3 separate regions of the Homo sapiens genome follow, and regions 1 and 2 are each linked to region 3. Evidence: promoter capture Hi-C in human tissues and cell types (Jung and others, 2019). All regions are on one chromosome and are shown on one strand. The core of a region is centred on a gene start or on the middle of the fragment in contact, and the rest is flanking DNA. Distances in the headings are between cores, read along the strand shown.

Region 1 (4,194 bases), core at 1,603-4,102, 250 kb after region 3:
GAGCCCTTTATACACAGCTGACCCTTGAACAATACAAGGGCTGGGGGACTAACCACACCCTACCCCTGCAGTCAAAAATTAATGTATAACTTTTGATTCCCCCAAAACTTAAGTACTAATATCCTACTGTTGACCAGAAGCCCTACTAATAACATTAAACAGTCTATTAATATGTATTTTATATGTTATGTGTATTATATACTGTATTCTTACAATGAAGCAAGCTAGAGAAAAGAAAACATGATAAAGATAATCATAAGGAGGCTGGGCACAGTGGCTCATACCTGTCATCCCAGCACTTTGTGGGGCTGGGACAGGGGATCACTTGAGGCCAAGAATTCAAGACCAGTCTAGGCAGCATAGCAAGACAATGACTTTACAAAAAAATTTAAAAATTAGCTGAGTGTGGTGGCACACACCTATAGTCCCAGCTACTCGGGAGGCTGAGGCGGGAGGATTGCTTGAGCCCAGGAGTTTGAGGCTGTAGTGAGCTATGATTGCACCACTGCACTCTAGCCTGGGTGACAGAGTCACACTCTGTCTCTAAAAAAAAGAAAGAAAAAATAAATGACTTTCTGCAGGTCACCAGCTAGTAAGTAGCAAGGCTGGGATTCAAACACAGGTCTGTCTCACTTCAAAGCCTAGAATACAAAATAAGTCCTACTTCCTTACCAGAGTGAGATATTCAAGGCATGAGTACTACCAAAATCTGAGAAAACTGATGAAAGAATAGGCCCTTCCTAACCTGTCTTTCTCCTACTCTTTCTCCTGTGTTCATCCCCCTTACACACCACCTCCTGGCTGCCCAGGTCTGGAGACTTTCCCCAAGGACTATCTTCTCATCAAAATGTATCTGTCCTGTTCTACTCTTCACCATAGTGACATTGCATTGTAAAGAATTGATGTGCCCTTCCCTCTAGTTCACACGTTTTTGCATTCTAAGTTGGACTTCCTGGGAGTATTGAACAATATTAAGAAATAATTCAAAAGATGGAAATTTCAGAACCTGGAAAAGGGACATGGATAAAATCAAAGCTGTTTACAGAGAAGTAGGCCTCTGAGAGTTCACCATTTTGTACCATGTAGATCTTCACAAACGTACACACACACACACAGCCAGCTGTGAGTTCCCTGAGAGCTGAACCTGGGGCTGTCTTGTTCAGTGCCTGGAAATCAATAAATATATAATGAATCAATGATATCTGAAATACACAACTGCACTTTATTTTCCCTGGGCCTCAGACTAACCCAGCACATGCGCCAATTGTTCCAGGTGACAGGATTTGTATTCATCTTTAGCAAAACACCGCTTCCTATCCCCTCTCTTAGTGAGCCCTGCTGACCCTCCAAAAAGGTCAGAAAGAACCAAGCCTCAGTGAATGACAATGACCCCCATCATTGGGAAATATGGAATAAAGCTTTCAAGAGCACTGAGAGAATGAAGACGAACAGGTTTGCCTGTGTGTGGTGGTGAATGTGAGTTACTGCAGACAGTTAAAGCGATCACCAAAAACCCAGCAAAACCAGCAGTTCCTTGAGAAACATTCACTAGCCTTGTGAGGATCTACAGATATGTAGATGGACTCTCTTGGTTGCAAAGGGGGAACATTACTGGTTCACATCACTGGAAATTCCATGATATATCCAGCTTCAGAAATGGCTGGATGCCGATAATCAAAGATCATCATGGACTTTATGTCTCATACTATATCTCTAGGCACTGCATTCCTTTGGAATGGCTTCATTCCCTAGCAGCTCTCTCTCTCTCTGCATAGAGAAGGATCATGGCACCTAGCAGCTCTAGGCTTATGTTGTCATTAGAATTCTTTTTTTTGCTGGGCGCAGTGGCTCACGCCTGTAATCCCAGCACTTTGGGAGGCCGAGGCGGGCGGATCACGAGGTTAGGAGATCGAGACCATCTTGGCTAACAAGGTGAAACCCCGTCTCTACTAAAAATACGAAAAATTAGCCAGGCGTGGTGGCAGGCGCCTGTAGTCCCAGGTACTTGGGAGGCTGAGGCAGGAGAATGGCATGAACCTGGGAGGCAGAGCTTGCAGTGAGCCGAGATCACGCCACTGCACTCCAGCCTGGGCGACAGAGCGAGACTCTGTCTCAAAAAAAAAAAAAAAAAGAATTCTTGGAACCAACCCAAATGTCCAACAATGATAGACTGGATTAAGAAAATGTGTCACATATACACCATGGAATACTATGCAGCCATAAAAAATGATGAGTTCACGTCCTTTGTAGGGACATGGATGAAGCTGGAAACCATCATTCTCAGCAAACTATCCCAAGGACAAAAAACCAAACACCGCATTTTCTCACTCGTAGGTGGGAATTGAACAATGAGAACACTTGGACACAGGAAGGGGAACATCACACACCAGGGCCTGTTGTGGGGTGAGGGGAGGGGGGACGGATAGCATTAGGAGATATACCGAATGTAAATGACGAGTTAATGGGTGCAGCACACCAACATGGCACATGTATACATATGTAACAAACCTGCACGTTGTACACACGTACCCTAGAACTTAAAGTATAATAAAAATATTTTTAAAAAAACTATAAAATAAAACACAATTTCAAAAAAAAAAAAAAACAAGCTGGGCACAGTGACTCATACCTGTAATCCCAGGACTTCAGGAGGTGGAGGTGGGAGGATTGCTTCAGCCCAGGAGTTCAAGACCACCCTGGGCAACATAGTGAGACCCTGTCTCTACAAAAAATAAAATATTAGCTAGACATGGTGGCATGTGCCTCCAGTGACAGCTACTTGGGAGGCTGAGGTGGAAGGATCACTTGAGCCCAGTAGGTCGAGCTGCAGTGGGCCATGATCATGCCACTGCACTCCAGCCTGGAAGACAGATCAAGCCCCTGTATCAAAAAATTAATTAACTAATTTTTTAAAAGCCCACCCAAAACAGGACCGTGGTAGCCCATGCCTATAATCCCAGCACTTTGGGAGGCCGAGGTGGGCAGATTGCCTGAAGTCAGGAGTTCGAGACCAGCCTGGCCAACATGGTGAAACCTTGTCTCTACTAAATTACCAATTTACTGTATTAGTCTGTTTTCACGCTGCTGATAAATACAAAAATTAGCCAGATGCGGTGGTGGGTGCCTGTAATCTCAGCTACTCGGGAGGCTGAGGCAGGAGAATCGCTTGAACCCAGGAGGCAGAGGTTGCAGTGAGCCAAGTTCACAGCACTGCACTCCAGCCTGCACAACAGAGTGAGACTCCGTCTCAAAAATAAATAAATGAACAAACCCGCCCAAAACAAATGCATAGCTCATCTAAAGTGAAGATTCTTGTCACCACCAGGTCAAGAAATAGAATATCTTGCAACCTACCCCAGAAGTTCCATCCATGAGCCCCTTCCCAATTGCAACCCTCCTCATATCCTGATTTTTGTATTAATCACCCAAATGTGCATTATTAAACTAGGGTTTAGTCTTTCCCATTCCTCTCCAAGCTAATATGTCCCTAAGCTTTTTTCAACCCATATCTTCCCGTCTAATATGGTTTCCCCTCTAATTGGTTCTGTGTCCCCACCCAAATATCACCTTGAATTATACTCCCATAATTCCCACTTGTTATGGGAGGGACCTGGTGGGAGATAATTTGAATTGTGGGGGTGGTTTCCCCCATAGTGTTCTCATGGTAGTGAATAAGTCTCATGAGATCTGATGGTTCTATAAGGAGTTTTTGTTTTTGCATCTTCCTCATTTTCTCTTGCCACTGCCATGTAAGAAGTGCCTTTAACCTCTCACCATGATTCTGAGGCCTCTGCAGCCATGTGGAACTGAAAGTCCAATTAAACCTCTTTTTCTTCCCAGGCTTGGGTATGTCTTTATCAGCCATGTGAAAGCAGACTAATACAGTAAGTTGGTATGAGTATAGTGGGGTGTTGCTGAAAAGATACCCAAAAATGTGGAAGTAACTTTGAAACTGGGTATCAGGCAGAGGGTAGAACAGTTTGGAGGGCTCGGAAGAAGACAGGAAAATGTGGGAAAGTTTGGAATCTCCTAGAGACTTGTTGAGTGGCTTTGACAAAAATGCTGATAGTGATATGAACAATCAGGTCCAGGCTGAGGTGGTCTCAGATGGAGATGAGAAACTTTTTGGGAACTGGAGCAAAGGTAACTCTCTTTACGTTTTTAGCAAAAAGACGGGCAGCATTTTGCCCCTGC
Region 2 (4,783 bases), core at 1,366-3,865, 250 kb before region 3:
GCAGAATGAAGCAACCGTGAGGCCTCATGTAGAACCCCAGGGTCAGGAAGAGACACAGCACAGGGTAAGACTCCCTAAGTGAGGCTGCCAGCCTTTTCTGTGCTCACAATACTGCCTGGGCCCACAGCCAGCAGGGCGGAAGCTGCCAGCCAGGCATGAATGCAAAAAACTCAGGAAGTAAAGAGATGCATCATTGAGAAGCTTTCTCTTTGCACACATGACTAAAGGGAACTGGATTAGAAGGGTTTTCTTTTCCCACAGTGGAGGTTCAAAAAGGTTTCATCAAGAGGGCATTTTACTGATAGCTAAACGAGAGCCTCGTGAAGATAGGGACCCCTCATCTTCGTCTCTGTGAACCCATATTATAAGTAGGGTCACGTGCCCCCATGGGCATTTAGGAAACATTTTCCCAAAGAGTGAAAAAGAACAGAGGGCTTGGGAAAATGTGACTTGGGGAATGTTTCCTTTTTCTCTTGCTCTAAATACGCTTTATTGGAAGTTAGGACCAAATAAGGTATTTGGGGGGCAGGAAAGACTAAGGATATTAAAGGCAGTAGAGTTGGTGTTGGCAAAACCTGTCTTGGAAAGAGAAGCAGCTATGTTGGACCAGGGGAGTCCAGAGAATGAGATTCCAGCATCAGCTGTCCCAACACTTCAGTGGGTTATGTTCCCTGCTGGAGCCTCCATTGCCCTTCGTGCAAATGGTGGGGGTGGTGGGCGTAGTGGTGGGGATGGGATGTGTGTGGAAGCTATGTTCTGGAAGGTTCCTTCTGGCTCTTAAGCTCTGATATTTATTAAGAATACTAGGACTAAGCACCTTCTCCATCTGTCAGGCAAATTTGAATGAGTCAGAAAGGTTGCTCATGTCAAGGCAGCTACTGGGCATGTGACAAGGTGCCCAGGGGAACCAGCTTCGGGAATGAGGGCACAGGGCACCGGTGCTCCAGGACTGGCTGGGATCAGACAGCCATCTGCATCAGGAACCTGCCCTGGTCCTGGCTGCCATCCACAGCGGAGTTCGTCCTTGGGCACCAGTCACAGGTCTGTAGGTCAGCAAGGTCAAGAAAGCCTTGTCTTCGCCTCCTCCTCCTCCTCCTCATTGTTATTATATTGTAGTAGCTTTGATCCTTATAACTCTATAACCTTACGGGGTAAGCAAGGCAGAATTGCACCATTTTATGGGTGAAAAATAGAGATTTAAGAGATTTGCCGGAAGTTTGACTTTGGCTAAGTAACAGTTACTTTGCTTGGGTCACAGGACTTATGTGTCCTTCAGTATTTATCCAGGAGATTTTGTGCACCTGGAATTTCCTGGCTTCCCCACGCTGTCCTTGAAGACAAGGACCACGGCTCATCCATCGCTGCACTTCCCACAGTGCCTGGCACAGAGTGGGCCCTCACATGTTTACTAAGCTGAACTCTCAACACCTGTTTCATGCTTGTTCCTTTCCCAGGGAACGTGCACCCACCTTAATTCCCTCATGTATTTCTTCTCCTCAAAAAAGAGGAGGAAAAATGAGATCACTTGCTCAGGTTCAAAATGTACCCTCCTAGCTTTCTAGCTTACCTGTGTGCAAATGGTTTCTGTTTGGGGGCACTAATTGAAAAAGAAATCTGATTTCTGCCCTGTAGCCTGGGAGACGGCCTGCCAAGGAAGTTCATAGGGCCCTCCCCCAGCATGTAATGGCTAGTGGGTGTCCCCGCCTTGCATAGCTGGGGACACTGTCAGAGCAGCCTCCTGTCTTTGTGGCATGTGAGAGATAGAGGTGCCATGAGGGTGGGCACCGGGACAACCAATATCAGAGGTGACAACAGCAGGCCTTTCTGTTCCCTGAGCTGTGACATGTGACTGCACAGTGCTGGCCTTATGCTGGCCGCTACACCCTGGGCTACCATTTTCCAACTCAGTGTCAGCTTTCACACTCATGCCAAGTGCTCCACTGCCAGAAATCCTCCACTGGGAGTGACTCTCCTAAAAGAAGCATTTATTTCCAGCTAAAACTTTGCCTTTGCTCTTCTGAGTTTTGACTTCGCCTCTCCAGTTGGTTGGACTCCTCCCATGATCGTGATACAGGAGGATCACGTGTCTTTCACAGTTTGTTTTTCTAAATAAAGCCAAGGCATTATTTCTTTCCTGTCTATGTGTTTTTCCTGCTCTAGGCAAAACAGAAGTGGTCAGAATTCCTGTTTCGAAAGGTAACAAGAGATTAACATGGCACAGCTCAAAATGCCTCTCGTGATTTCTGATTGGGAATTTTGAGGCCCAGGGTGTAGGACCTGCATTATCCAAGGACCAGAATGTTTTTACAGAAAATTTCAAATGTATACAATGTAGAGAGAGGAGTGGAATGAACCCCATGTCACCCAGCTTGGACAGTTTACAATTCAGAAACAGTCCTGCCTCATCTATGCTAAGCCCATTCTCCCCTTATCTACCTGGATAACTGGAAACAAATCCAGATATATTTCATCTGTATATATTTCATATGTTTCTCTAAAACATAAGGGCTCTTAAAACCACAGTACCATGACCACACCTAGAGAGTTAAGAATTAATACCTTAAGATTACCGAATCCAATTAGAATTCAAATTTTTCCAAATAGGTCATAAATTTTTAACAGTTTGTAAATTTCAGGGTTCACATACAGTCCATATATTTTTTGCAATATTGCAATTAGAGGATGTGTTATGGCCTAGATTACAGCTTGATGGTGGAATGCCTCATCAGAGAACACCTGGGCCCCGCTCCTCCAAGGCTCAACATCTCAGAGCCAGCTTGGTCTATCCTTTGCCCTTAGTGGGTCATGGACTCCCATGCTTCCATGGGTTAGGCCCTCGCCATGTCACACTGCAAAGGCTTCCCACAGGCAACCAGCCCCAGCCTTCCTTGTTACACTGCCAGGCTGGCTCTCCTGCAGTAACCAGATCAATCTTGTCATAGCCTGGCTTGGGTGGCACCACCCCACCACCCATCCGTACACTCCCTTTCTCCCTAGCATGCCCTGCCCCACCCCAACAAGACAAAGCACAGCCTAGCTGTTTTTCATGGCCTTGAAGTGCCCCAACCTGTCAAAGTCTTCAAAGGCCCCCACATCCCGCCCCAGCCTGCCCCATGCTTCAGCCAGCTCCCTGAGCCTAAGAACAGGCTATGCCAACCCACCTTCACAAATGCCGTTATGAAAAAATCTGCTCAAATGCCCTCTTCTTTCCTCTGCACCTTTCCAAATTTCGTCCACTCTTCAAAGTCCAGCTCAGGTCCTGCCAAAGCTACCCCAGTGCTTTCTAGTCCCTGACTTGAACTTCTCGGCCAGCCTACTCGGGTTGTGCACACTAGCAAGCAGTGATGATTGTTAGCCTGCCTCACCTGTGACTGTTAGAGCCAGACTAGTACAGAAACTTATTACAGACTAGAGCTCAGAATATGAGTTTCAAAGACCTTTGGAAGACCAGAACTTTATGTCATATCCCTACTTATGTCTGAACACATCCTTGAATGGATGTGGAGGGTTTTTTTAAGCTCATTTCAGAAATTTAGCCATAAAGGGATGAGAGAAGGGTGTATGCGTGGTGGTTATGGTAAGGTGAGGGTAATGTGAAAGATTTTGTTTTTTGTTTCTGTTTTTGTTTTTGAGACTGAGTCTTGCTCTGTCACCAAGGCTGGAGTGCAGTGGTGCAATCTCAGCTCACTGCAACCTCCGCCTCCCAGGTTCAAGCAATTCTTCTGCCTCAGCCTCCCAAGTAGCTGGGATTACAGGTGCGTGCCTCCACGCCCAGCTAATTTTTTATATTTTTAGTCGACATGGGGTTTCGCCATGTTGGCCAGGCTGGTCTCAGACTCCTGACCTAAAGCGATCCACCTGCCTTGGCCTCCCAAAGTGCTGGGAATACAGGCGCGAGCCACCGCACCCAGCCTGTGTTTTTGTTTTTTATGAAGAGGCTTGAGCAAACTGCTATGCAGACGGCAAAAGAGACCAGAGAAGGAAGGTTGGAGACAGAAGAAAGAGGGGCTCACTGATGAAAGGTAGCCATGAGAAGACAGTGGGGGGATCCAGGCACCAGAGTCAACATTAATTCTGCCCCATGACACTTCTTGGAGGTCATACTCTGAGGTGGACCCCCCTGTGTCTGTGTCAGTGCTCACTGCAGGCAGCTTCCTGGAGAACCTGCCTGGGCCCAAGCTCCAGGGTACATCTCTTTGGGCCGGCTACCAACACGCAGTCAGATCAAAACTTGCCCCAAAGGATACCACTGTAGTGGCAAAGTTTACACATTCTAGATGATGACACGCCCTTTTTCAACAAATAGGCACAATTTCAGGACAATGATAGCTTTTGGTTAGTCCCTCAAAGTTTGTTTTGTAAGGAGGTCTGACCATAATGAAAGGCATGTGTATCTATATGAAAATGATCAAAAATTATGTACCAAATTTGAATACACATTTAATAAGATGGATTGTATTTGCAATAAAAAACGAGTACTCAAATGTTGAATGAAGGAGAAAAATCTCTAAATGCTCTCCTTCTTGGAGTGCAATTTAATTTTGGAGTTAATGCATTCATTTCTTCAACAAATGTGTCTAGTATGTGTCAGGCACTGTACTAGGTGCTGAAGATGCAATGGAGAACAAAACAGCTCTAGTCTCTGACCTTGCGGCACTCACAGACCAGTGTAAGAGACTGATAATAAATAACAAGTAAACCAATGCACAAGGAAATAATTGCAATCTGCAATGAGCGCTGCAAAGGAATTAAACGAGGGCTGCAACAGAAAAATGGAGGGATC
Region 3 (4,273 bases), core at 1,491-3,990:
TCTGAACACCTTTTTTCAGTAGAGCCACATAAATGATGATGTACTTACTCAACTCGTGGGCCTCCTCAGTCAACAGGTAGCAAGCTCTTACAGAATCCCCACGATTTGGAGCTGCAGTACCTGGGCCAGGATGAAGTGACCTGTATGGGCAAAGTGATGGCCTGGAGATGAGTGCCTGCAGTCAGGTGCCTGAGGTCCCACTCGGCCTTGCCCAGTGAAATCACCCTCAGTCTCTTGTGACTATTGATCTTATAAAAATGAGGCCCCTTCCCTTCCCCTTTAGAGCTAGACTCTACCCTGAGGCACTAGTTTTGGGGCTCTGAGCAAAGGATACTGGTCATCTTTTAAGGTAAAACAGGCAAATAAGTGCTTTTAAATAAACATCCTGTTTACAGTAAGTTCCTATAGACTACTTCCCTGCCCCCATGCCTCCTGCAGACAGAACCCTGTTTCCACAGTCATCCTTTGCCTGTTCTTGTCAGTCTTCTAAAATTGAAGACACAGGTGCCTGCAGCTCAAATTGTTATGCATCCTTGTTCCGTAGGGCACATTCTTTTGGCAGCTGTGCTGGTCAGAGGCTGCGTGGTTGCTGTCACTGCTGCCAAACAGCATAGCTCTGGACAAGCCCAAAGGGGCAGAGCTTCGTCATCTCCTGGCTGTGCCTCAGACCCTCTGCAGCATGCAGGAGCACATTCCCCCTGGCCCTGGTAGTCTAGGATGCTTCCTGCAGCCTACCTGGAGGAACAGCAGAGGGGCAATGCTCTAAATGTTCTCCCTGCCAATCTTTTGCCATTCCAGCTGGGCTGCAGTAGTGCAACTTGGAAGCCATGCTGAAGCACAGTGACACTTACTCAGTGGAAGGCACAAGTACCACTCTGGCCTTGCAAGAAGTGGAAAGAACCACCTATTCCTAAGGGTCAAACCCTCTGAAAAGCATTGGTTTGAGGAGGATTGGGGAGGGAAAGTGGAGATAATGTGGCTTTCTAATAACACCACCTGTGGTTTTGCAGCATCCATTTTAAGTGGAGAAGTACACCTAGACAGAGCCTAAATTAGGGTGTCAGCTATAATTCAGAACTACATTGATGAGCTTGAAATAGCAGCAGTATCTTGCTCCCCTTCCTTGGGAAATGCTTCCTTTCGACCTCCTTGGTTTGTTTTTAAGAGAACCCCCTACTGTACTTCATCTTGGCATGGTGGAGTAATGGAGGCACAGGGGCACCAGCTGAGGCTGGCTTCTCAGGAAAGCCACTGACAATGGCTACTTCCTTCTTTGCTTGACTGCCTTCTGCTTTAAAGGCAAAGCTGCACCAGCCCTGACCAAACCTTAGTTCCAGAAGTGGGTTCAGCATAGGCTGCTTCATTTGTGTCTATGGGAAAACACAAGGATTCCCATTCCCTCTTATTCCAAATGGGAGAACAAACAGAAGTAACCACTGAGGTGGTGGTCCCTGGGCTGGCAGAGGAAAAACCATTCTCTTCTCACTATTGCCTAGGCAGAACGTGGCCTATACAGCTGCACCATATCAGCATCCCCCAAGCAAACCAAAAAACAACGACTGGGATTCAAAGCAGGAGAGTTAAGGTTGGGTCCTGGGTTTGGGAGTGAAGCAGCATGAGGAAACGGGTCTGCCATATCGTGAAGCCTCGGGTACTCAGGAAGGGGGAGCTTCACGGATAGTACCTCCAGGCACCTTGCCTAGAGTTGAGTCAGAGAGGGCAGGGGTGGCCCACTGGCTTCTCCAAGAGGGAACGGAGGGCACTCATAGAATGGATGGTGTGTGGTCAACTTAAAGGCAAAGATGGACTAAAATACTGAACTTAAAATTGTTTCAAGCAGTTTCACATTAAGAGCTACCTCATCCATCCTGACATTTTGGGAAGTACAGGTTATACATAGTACAAGGCCTTATCAGTGAGAAAATGTAAAGCCAAGTAAATTTAAATTTAAAACACAGAAAGTACTGCTTGACCAAAACTACAAAAACAACAACAACAACAACAAAGCACCAATAAAACATAAAACACAGACACACAACTTTGGAAAGCAGCTACTTCAGTAAAATTCTTTTATGAAACAACTCAGGGTAAAAATCTAGCTGTTGGGGAGGCCCAGGAAAATCCCCCTGCCTAGTGGCAGGCAGCAGGGCTTGAAGGCCAACCAGCCTAGCCTGGAGACAATTACTCTATGGCACAAAAATAACAGGAATGAGGCAGCAGCCATGGACTCTGCTCACAACTCACAACCGTCACCCTTAGCTCTCCACACGCAACAGGTTTCTTCCTAGTAAGGGTGGAGCAAAAGATTCACACTGATGTACTAGAAAATCAAAACAGTTAACATTTACAATTACACTCCTTCCCCCTAAGTACAGACTGCAAAGCCAGACAGAGCTGGCCTGGCCGCCACCACTGCCAATGAAAACGCCTTGGGAAAAGCCAAAAGTGCTCACTGCTAAACACCATTGTCAGCTAAAGGGAAAAAAAAAATCCCTTTTAAGGAAAGTAACTTCAATAGGCTCCTTTTCTGCCAGGACCTCCAATCCCTCTGAACATAAGCCGAACCACAGACTGCCGCACATGTGTCTGGGTCCTGGCTTTTCTTCCCTCACCCCTCCGCAGAGCTTCAGCACCAGTTGTTAGCCAAAAATAAACACCATTCCTCAACCATATATGTCCACCGGCCCAGAGTCGGGGAGGAGGAGAGGAGGCAGGTCAGCCGTCCCCCGGCTGCAGCTGCACTCACATGTGGCCACTGCTCACCATGCACATAACCCAGCTCAACCGGGAGTGCCTGCTGCACCTCTTCTCCTTCCTAGACAAGGACAGCAGGAAGAGCCTTGCCAGGACCTGCTCCCAGCTCCACGACGTGTTTGAGGACCCCGCACTCTGGTCCCTGCTGCACTTCCGTTCCCTCACTGAACTCCAGAAGGACAACTTCCTCCTGGGCCCGGCACTCCGCAGCCTCTCCATCTGCTGGCACTCCAGCCGCGTGCAGGTGTGCAGCATTGAGGACTGGCTCAAGAGTGCCTTCCAGAGAAGCATCTGCAGCCGGCACGAGAGCCTGGTCAATGATTTCCTCCTCCGGGTGTGCGACAGGTAGGCCACCTTGCCTCCTGAGCAGTGCTGGCCCCGCTAGCTCTGGCTTCCCTCTTGGGGGGCAGGGAAGAGCAAATTACGAGACCAAGATGGCTCCACCTTCGGGGCGCCTCAAACTAGGCCCAAGGCAGACATCCAGACCGCCCAAAGCAGGGTCCCCAGGAGACAATAAAATCATGAGGGAAACAATTGCTAATCCTCCTCTTAGCCTCACAGGTCCTGGGCTGCTTCATGCAAACACCAAGAAGTGGGGCCTCCGTACTGGTAGTCATTAAGTGCTGGGTGGGTCCAGCTGGGCCTGGATTTTCAAGGTCAGGCTCTGGGAAAAGGCTTCCAGATGCAGCAATCAGCTCACCCCTCCATTAGGCCTAGCAAGCAGCCCTCAAGGCCTGGGAAACTACGGAGGAAAGAGAGGGTGGGGAGCCAGAGGTGGAGAAGCCAGGGTGCTCAGGTCAGCTGAGCCAAACCAGACTCCAGGAGTAGATGAATTACTGATTTACACAGTATTCCTAAGGAGGGTGGCTTAGCCTAATTTTTCAAATTAGCAAACTGATGCTCCACGAGGTGGTATGATTTGCCCAGTCTAGGGTTGCCAGATTTTAGCAAATATATAGGCTGCCCAGTTAAATATGAATTTCAGATAAACAGTGAATAATATTTTAGTGTAAGTATGTCCCAAATACATCTTGTGTTTATCTGCTAACCCCCACCCCAGACACAGACATAGACACTGAACCACCAGGCCAGGCTCCCTCCATGGTCCCAGCCTCATGGGCAGAGCGGCCCAGGCAAGAACACAGAGCTATTCAACCAGCCTCTCACTGAGCTTCTGCCAGTCCCGTGCTGCCTTTGAGGAAAAACACCCCCTTGATCATATAACAAACTGGCCCTGGCTGTTCATGGAAAACTAGACTCAGCCAGTTTACTGCCACCCAAGTTCATAGCTGCTATTTGCTGGCAGCACGACAGGAGTGGAAGGAAACAGCGTAGTGACCCCACCTTTCTTTTGAGCTGGTAGGAAGAAAACAGAAGATGGACTTGGGGTTGGGCCCCGACTGGACAAGGCTATTTTGATGGGCTTAACAAGGCCCAGGAATTAGACTAGAGTGACATGGGTGGGGGTTGGGGGGAGGCGAATGGCACAACATGTCCTGAAGTTGTTCCATTCTTACTG

The links. The method cuts DNA at HindIII sites, captures the fragments that hold promoters and counts their contacts. A contact is called where the count stands out against the background at its distance.
Region 1: a fragment that was not itself captured here is called in contact with the fragment with the promoter of FBXL22 in region 3 in 1 of the 25 tissues and cell types used here (H1 embryonic stem cells).
Region 2: a contact is called between a fragment that was not itself captured here and the fragment with the promoter of FBXL22 in region 3, in 2 of the 25 tissues and cell types used here (H1 embryonic stem cells and IMR-90 fibroblasts).

Annotation. Positions count from the first base shown.
Region 1 is chr15:63,842,515-63,846,708 of GRCh38, forward strand. No RefSeq gene overlaps it. Among named protein-coding and RNA genes, the nearest start is that of HERC1, 11 kb to the left of the region's middle. The HindIII fragment of the contact is 4,663 bases long and covers 522-4,194 here.
Region 2 is chr15:63,348,444-63,353,226 of GRCh38, forward strand. The region is part of intron 2 of CA12 (carbonic anhydrase 12); the gene reads right to left. Among named protein-coding and RNA genes, the nearest start is that of CA12, 31 kb to the right of the region's middle. The HindIII fragment of the contact is 8,588 bases long and covers 1-4,783 here.
Region 3 is chr15:63,594,647-63,598,919 of GRCh38, forward strand. It overlaps FBXL22 (F-box and leucine rich repeat protein 22), which reads left to right and starts at 2,741. Exons shown (of 2, transcript NM_001367807.1): 1 at 2,741-3,099. The coding sequence starts at 2,747. USP3-AS1 (USP3 antisense RNA 1) reads right to left here. Exons shown (of 3, transcript NR_034080.1): 2 at 49-140. RefSeq lists an enhancer at 60-109. The HindIII fragment of the contact is 12,633 bases long and covers 1-4,273 here.